Linked DNA regions of Homo sapiens: region 1 is linked to region 2. Evidence: promoter capture Hi-C in 16 types of primary human blood cells and fetal thymus (Javierre and others, 2016). All regions are on one chromosome and are shown on one strand. Each heading gives the region's core, a stretch centred on a gene start or on the middle of the fragment in contact. The rest is flanking DNA. Distances are from core to core; before and after follow the strand shown. Region 1 has its middle 180 kb from the start of LRP12. Region 2 holds the start of DPYS (dihydropyrimidinase).

Region 1 (3,597 bases), core at 33-2,532, 310 kb before region 2:
ACACACAGAAGCAGCCGGAAGTTTGGGGGAAGCAGATAGCCCAGCTCCAGGTATAGTTCTCCAACCAACAGAAATGCTGTCAGCAGATACGTGCCCAATTTCATCCTTGGGGGACAATTCTGAGAAGGATCCTGTGTGGTTCCTCAGATGGTCTCCAGGGAATTGAGCCCAGTCATCTGCCATAAGGACCAGCTCAATAGCAAACCCTATATTGATTTTTTTTTTCTCATGTTCACACTCCTGGTTCCCTCACGCTATTCTGTGGGATCACCTCCCAAATAAACCACCACCACCCAAATCTGTGTCTCATACTGTACCCTCTGAAGAAACCAAACTAAGACACCCATGTTGAGCAATTTGGACTGTATCCCAAGGGGAGTGGGAAACTAATAAAGGATTTTAAGCAAGAGAGTGACATAATCATCCCTGTCCTTTAGTACCATCCAACTAGGCTGCCCTGCAGAGTATGAACCTGCAAGAGAAAGCAGATGGTCTGGACTTATAGAAATACAGATTCAAGAGTGATGAGCTAAGTGGAACTGACAAAACATAATGATTGACTGGGTATGGGTGTTGAAGGAGAAGGAATCAAGATGAGGGGCTGGAAAAGAGTAAATGGTTATAAAGAGACCCTCATAGGTAGCTTTGCATCCTAAAGAATAATCACATGACCAATATCCATGATTTCCTTTATTCCTTTATTCATTCATCCAGAAATATCATTTCTTGTATATGCTACATTGTAACAGATATTTAATTCAATAGTATCCACAGCACTATAATAGACGCCATAAAGTATACACATGTGCACCCCCACACACAGACACACAAACACACAGATGAAAATATGGTCCTTGATCTAAAGCAGTTTACAATCGATTTGAGAAAAGGTACAGCATCATAAATAAACAAGCAAACCTACGTAATGTAACAAGTACTAAATAATATAAATGATATTGTTGGGGAGTAAAAGCTTTTCTCTACCCTCTTAAATTTAGTGATTGGAAGCCTGCAAATTAAACTGACAGAAGACAGATTAGCAAGAGAAAATAAAACATTTAATTACAAATGTATGCAGGAGTTCACAAAAAAAATGTGACTGAAGGAGATGGCTAGAATTGGGGGCTTGTACACTATGTTAATAGGTTATAGGAAGGGACAAACAGGTGTTTCTGGGAGAACAAATGACTTCTTGGGGAGCAGGGAGAAACTTATGGAAAAACAAACGACTTTTTGGAAAGATAAATGGGCCCTTGGGAGAATAGATGGGAGATGTGATAATTTTGTGACAATGTTTGTTTGGGTGTGGTGCCAACTTCTCCTCTCCAAGAAGAGATTACAGCTGCTCCCAGGGAGGGGATTTATGACAATTGAGTTCTTCGGGGAGGCTCTGCTTATAGACAGATAAGGGATTTTAGGAACTCAAATGCCTTCAGCTAAAAATAATTTTTATGCCACAATGGTTTATTCTGGACTCCTTCAATTCATAAAATCGGGGAGGTTGCCCAAAGCAAAAGAGCGGTCAATGTGGACTGAGTTTTAGGGTGTGGATAAATACAAATTCATAATTTATTTCCTGTTTAAAGCTTATTCTGAACCAGGCAAAGCACTTTATTTTTACTTGTTATATTATCTAATTCTTATAAAATTATTTTGCAATTGATATTATTATATTTTTTTTTATTTTTGAGGAAGAATTTCAAGAGAGAGGAAAAGTGTGTGTGTGTGTGTGCGCATGTGCATGCACACATGCATGCACACAGTAGACACTAAGGTCTAGTCCACAGAAAGTGGAGGAATTATGCTGGGGAATAATTGGGGACAGGCTTAACGGAAGGAGAGGCAGCTGGACAATGTAGAGCCTGTCGCACTTGGTTAGAGTTAGGATAAGGTGGGATATGGAAAAGGAGACACTATATTCTTAAGGAAATGGAAGATTGTAAAATATGTTCATCAAATATGACTCTAGGAACTCCATGCCAAGTACACTGGATTAGGTGCAGTTGTTCAAGAGTCTATTAAGAAATGAAAACATTTAGCCATGAAGACCTGCACTGTGTGAATTAGAAATTAAAGAAACATGGAGAAAGACCTGATGACCACATTGGAGCAGGTGCAAAAGAAGAAACAAGGACATCTTGAAACTGCCTTTGCAAAAATAATAACAGTGAGAGAAATCTAACATAACTGACTCCATTCTGCTTCTAACCTCACAAGCTAACTGCCCTTGCTCATTCTTGGGCATAGGCCAAGCTAAGAATGGGAAGAATGCTGTTTATGGTTTAACTTTAAAGCAAGGATGATAATAGTCCCTTCCTGAAACAAACCGCCTCCTCGTTCAGGGACCAAAACTGCCTTTGTAAAGCTAATGAAAGACCACAAGGTTAGAATTATGAGAAGGGCCTGAATTCTGCTAAGACATAGACATAGTTAAGTGATAACCAGCCATTTTTCCCTAGCTTGCTTTTCTATAATTGCTTACTGCTCAGGAGTCATGTAGTCGAATGTCAAGATTTGTTAATTTCCCCAATTGCTCCTCTAAATAACATCACTATTATAAAACCTAAGACTGGTCTTTGAGATACTTTTCAGACTTTTGCATCCTGGTGGACCACATGATGCCACTTGGACCTGTGACCCATACCAAGAAACTGACTCAACTTGTCCTGTGAATTCTACCCAGAAACTGACTCAGCGCACAAAGACAATTTCAACATCCCTATGATACCATTCCCAGCCAAACCACAGCACCCATTTCCTAGCCCCTGCCCACCAAATTATCCTTAAAAACCCTAGCCTCTGAGTTTTCAGGGAGGTACATTTGAGAAATAACTCCCTTCTTCTTGCTCAGCTGCCCTGTGATAATTAAACTCTTTCTGTGCTGCAACACTGCTGTCTCCATGTATTGGCTTTTCTGTGCAGCAGGCGATAAAAATCTTGCTAGAATCTTGGGCTAGAACAATCTCTAGGCTTAGACCAAGAGTTTTGGAAAGATGCTACACTTAATGTAATGCAGAATGAGTCATTTGGAATGGCAGGATAGAGAGCAAGAGGGCAGCTCTAGAAGAATCCTCCAGGCTTTTAAAAACAGGGACTTTTCTTGGCCCTTGTCTCACCTTCATTCTCAAAGTGGGATGTATGTTTGCTGTATGGCCCTGTGTGTGTTAGACACACAGTAAGTACATGCTGAAAGAATGGGTGAATTTATGAGGGATCGAAAATAAAGAGCAATAAGCAATGTTTCCCCTATTCTCCACTGTCTCTGTTTCCTCTAAACTGTAGGGCAGAGCCTGATAGAATGAGGGGAAACACATAAAATCTGGAATCAGAAGATTCAATTTCTAAAGTTTGTCTTCTGCACATACCACTTTTATACATCGGACAAGTCAAAATTATCTCTAAAGTTCAGTTTATTTCTCTGTAAAAGGAGAATAACACCACCAATCCTCCTAGCTCAAAAAATACATCACTTGTGTTAGTTGAGTGCACACTACCAAGTACTTTAACCACTTACACAGAAGTAGTTCTTCTCCCATAGGGCTCTGTCAGTTCTCTTTCAAAATCCAACTCTGTGTGTGTGTGTGTGTGTGTGTGTGT
Region 2 (3,656 bases), core at 389-2,888:
TTTAGTGAGCCCTCTTTACTACCTGACTGGTAGGGTGTGAGCTGAGATGCAAGCCCCATGTTTAAAGGTAGGTGTAGTCACCTTCCCCAGCTAGGCTTAGGAATTCTTAGTCAGCCTAGGAAATCCAGCTAGTCCTGTCTCTCACCATCAGTTTCTCCAAAACAAGTGTTCTGAGACTTCAGGCAGAGGATTTCCCACCAAAGAAATGCCAGTGACTGTTACCAGAATAAGGACAAGAATATATGCCTGGTCAGCAGATGTCCACCCCACCTCCCCATGACCCTTCATAACCCTTTTGCAAGATTCCATCCTGTTGCCCTTCTTAAAATTCTGCATTCCTGCCTTCCATCACACAGACCTGTGGTCTCCCTTCTCTCTGACCACTCTGTCTCTTCTTCCTCCTCCTCCCCTATAAGCAAAGGGATGGTCCAGGATTCAGTGTAAGCCTATCCCTCATAGCTTAACCACAGGGAGTGCATTCCTTCATCCTCTCTGTGCCTTTACACGCTCTGTTCACTCTACCTGGAGCACTATGTCCTCTTCCCACCACTCACCTCTGCGTGTTCACATTCTCTGTATCCTAGTTCAAATACCTCTTCACAAATCTTCCATATCTGATGTCTTTAAGCCAGAAATAAACTCACTCTTTCCTCTAAATTCTTATCTTTATCCCTTCTCAAAGATAGAATGTTCTGTTTTATATATTGAAATATGAATGTGTGTCACTGTTGGCTGTTAGCTACTTGAGGGTGGAAATGTGGTTTATCTTTCCCACTTAGCCCTCTAGCCAATCCCCCTAGTCAGGTAAGCTTTGTAGTCCTTACAAAGCCAGTATTTAAGTGAATTTGCATGGTGCTTCCCACTTTATTAGGGTGTATTCACAGCCATGATCATATTTGCTTCTCAAAGCAAATATGGAAGGCAAGAACAAGTATTAATCAATTTTATATATGAGAAAACTGAGGAACCAAGAGAATAAAAGATTTAACTGAAGATCTCTAAACTGGTTTTGTGGAAAAGCTGGGAGTAGAAATTTAAATCTTTAGAGTTACAGTACCGGTTATTTTCCAAGAAACACTTGCTGGTATGTGTTGTATCATTAAACTGTGGAGAATAGTTGACACCAAGTCGTTTTCTTTCAAATACATTAAATATTTTACTCTGATCCTTCCCTGTGTCTGCCAATTACTGGGATTATATGATAATTTGCTCCTCGCTTAAGAACATTTAACAGGAAACCCAGATCGAGTGGCTCTGTTCTGGCTTGGGTGGGTTTGGGTATTTTTGTTGCTGCTTCTAGTGATGGTTCTTGCTTTCTTTCTCCCTCTGGATCTGTCTTTTGGTACAAACACACCCCCAACCAAGGGAAAGGGTGAGGTGGATTTCTTTCCCTTTAGCACCTAATCTTATGATGAAAAACGCAGGTTCCTTTCTCTTAAAATTCCAAGATCTTTCCCTTCCAATGACTCCGAAGCCTGGGTGGATACCTCAACTCAGGGCGCAGAACACTTGGGGTCTGAGTGTGCAAGGACCATGCGGACCTGTTCAATCCCGGCCTTTGGGCTCCAGCCCAGCCTTCCCGGGGGGAGGAGCCGCATATGCGGCCAGGTCATAAACCCGTCAGGCCGCCGGGCTCCGGATTTGCAGCCTGAGGCAGAGCTCGGGGGCTGTCGGTGGGGACCTTGCAGGAGGGCACCCCAAGCCCGCCCGGCCCGCCCAACCCAGCCCCTGCGCGCAGCCCGGGCCGAGTAGGACCCCGCGCGCCCCTCGCTATGGCGGCGCCCTCGCGGCTCCTGATCCGCGGGGGTCGCGTGGTCAACGATGACTTCTCGGAGGTGGCCGACGTGCTGGTGGAGGACGGCGTGGTGCGGGCACTCGGGCACGACCTGCTGCCTCCCGGGGGCGCTCCTGCGGGGCTGCGGGTCCTCGACGCCGCCGGCAAGCTCGTCCTGCCCGGAGGCATCGACACACACACGCACATGCAGTTCCCCTTCATGGGCTCGCGGTCCATCGACGACTTCCACCAGGGCACCAAGGTACCCGCCCCGCCGCGCCCCCGCCCCGCGGTACCCACGGAGGCTCGGGCAGCCTCCCCAGTCGTCCCGGGGTCCTCAGCAGGGCCGCCTCGCGCGGCGCGGCGCCGAGGAGCTGGGTGGGCGGGAAGGAGCGCAGCCCCGGCGGGTGTCAGAGGGGACTCAGATTCTCTTCGCTGGGGTCCCTTTCAGGCGCCCCTTCTCGGCGGCAGCCGAGCAGCCTTGGCTCAACCAGATGCCCTCGACTCCTCCTTTAGTGGTTAATTTGACGAGTTTAAGGCCATCCCCTTACCCTAATTTCTCTATACCGCTTACTCCCCAAATCTCCCCGCAACCCCATTTTGATTGGTGTTCTGTGGAAGTCGCAAATCTTCCATACATTCTTTAGAATCTTTTTTTAAAGTAGGCACTTCCAGCCATTTCTCCCAACCATTTCGACCCATCCTTTATCCCCAACCAAAACCAAATGAAAAATCCATTCACCTGGTAGTTACAGCCTTGACTCAAAGTGAGCAGTGTAGCAGGTAATGTGTCTGAGTAGGCTAGATGCCCACCGTGTTCACGTTCCCGTCCCCTACCCTCTGCCCCCACTCCCACCCCCAGTAGAAAAAATATAGCCCCGACCAGGGTTTAGAAGAGAAAGTATTCCAGAAATGATCTCGCAACACTCACACACACCAACGCAGCCTCGCAGCAGGCTCTTTTCTCCATCCCACTTGCGCTGGGGACACAACATTCTTGCTGCTGGAGTACCCATAGTTTTACTGATGTTGCAGGAGGGTAATCAGATCACCACTCCCCAGGTGAAGGTAGGCTTGGGTTTCTCTAGATACAAAGGCCTAGAAGTTTGGGTCAATGAAAGGAAACTTAAACCAAACTTGTCCAACCTGTAGGCCGCATGCAGCCCAGGACAGCTTTGAATGCGGCCCAACACAAATTCATAAACTTTCTTAAAACATTATGAGATTTTTTTTCTTAGTTCATTGGCTGTCGTTAGTGTTAGTATATTTCATGTGTGGCCCAAGACAAGAGAAGCCAAAGATTGGACACCCCTGCAACATTTCCCCAAAGCTCCTCAACACAAGATCAAGAGACTAACAGAGCAGCTTTACAGGAACATAGAGTAAAAATTCTACTCTCAGCACTTGGGCTAAAGTAAAGCCCACATCCTCCCTAAGTCCTGTGTTTTGAGCTGCCTTGAGAGAAATGGCTCCTTCCAAAGTGAAGATGTATTGATATACTAAAGGCCTTGGCTTTTCACTTGGACCATACCTTGATGTGTGAAACAAGTTGGGCTATTAAGTCCAGTGTATAGTAGGCTTCCTTCCTCCCTCCCTCCTTCTCTCCATCACTCCCTCCCTTCTTTCTCCCCCCACTACCCCCTCCACCCCTCTCTTTCTTTCTATTCCCATGTTACTGTGGACAGGCTGACAGTCTTCCAAAGCAGTTTTGGTGATAGCTACTTCATTCATATACTGATTTCTGACAGTTTTGCTCTCCTTACACCTCCCCCTCTCCAAGTTCCCCAATCCTCTATAATTGACTGGAATGATTAACAGAAAAAAAGGAAGGCAGGTAGATTTGACCCAGAGAGAAGGATCTGGGCAGGCTGCTCAAATCACC

Evidence for each region. Contacts are between HindIII fragments. The CHiCAGO score rates a contact against its expected background, and 5 or more counts as called.
Region 1: a contact is called between a fragment that was not itself captured here and the fragment with the promoter of DPYS in region 2, in 2 of 17 cell types (erythroblasts and megakaryocytes). The highest score is 5.6, in erythroblasts.

What each region holds. Positions count from the first base shown.
Region 1 is chr8:104,769,964-104,773,560 of GRCh38, reverse strand. No RefSeq gene overlaps it. Among named protein-coding and RNA genes, the nearest start is that of LRP12, 180 kb to the right of the region's middle. The HindIII fragment of the contact is 613 bases long and covers 976-1,588 here.
Region 2 is chr8:104,465,037-104,468,692 of GRCh38, reverse strand. It overlaps DPYS (dihydropyrimidinase), which reads left to right and starts at 1,638. Exons shown (of 10, transcript NM_001385.3): 1 at 1,638-2,036. The coding sequence starts at 1,773. LOC105375691 (a long non-coding RNA gene) reads right to left here and starts at 2,923. Exons shown (of 3, transcript XR_928507.3): 1 at 2,706-2,923. The HindIII fragment of the contact is 2,857 bases long and covers 812-3,656 here.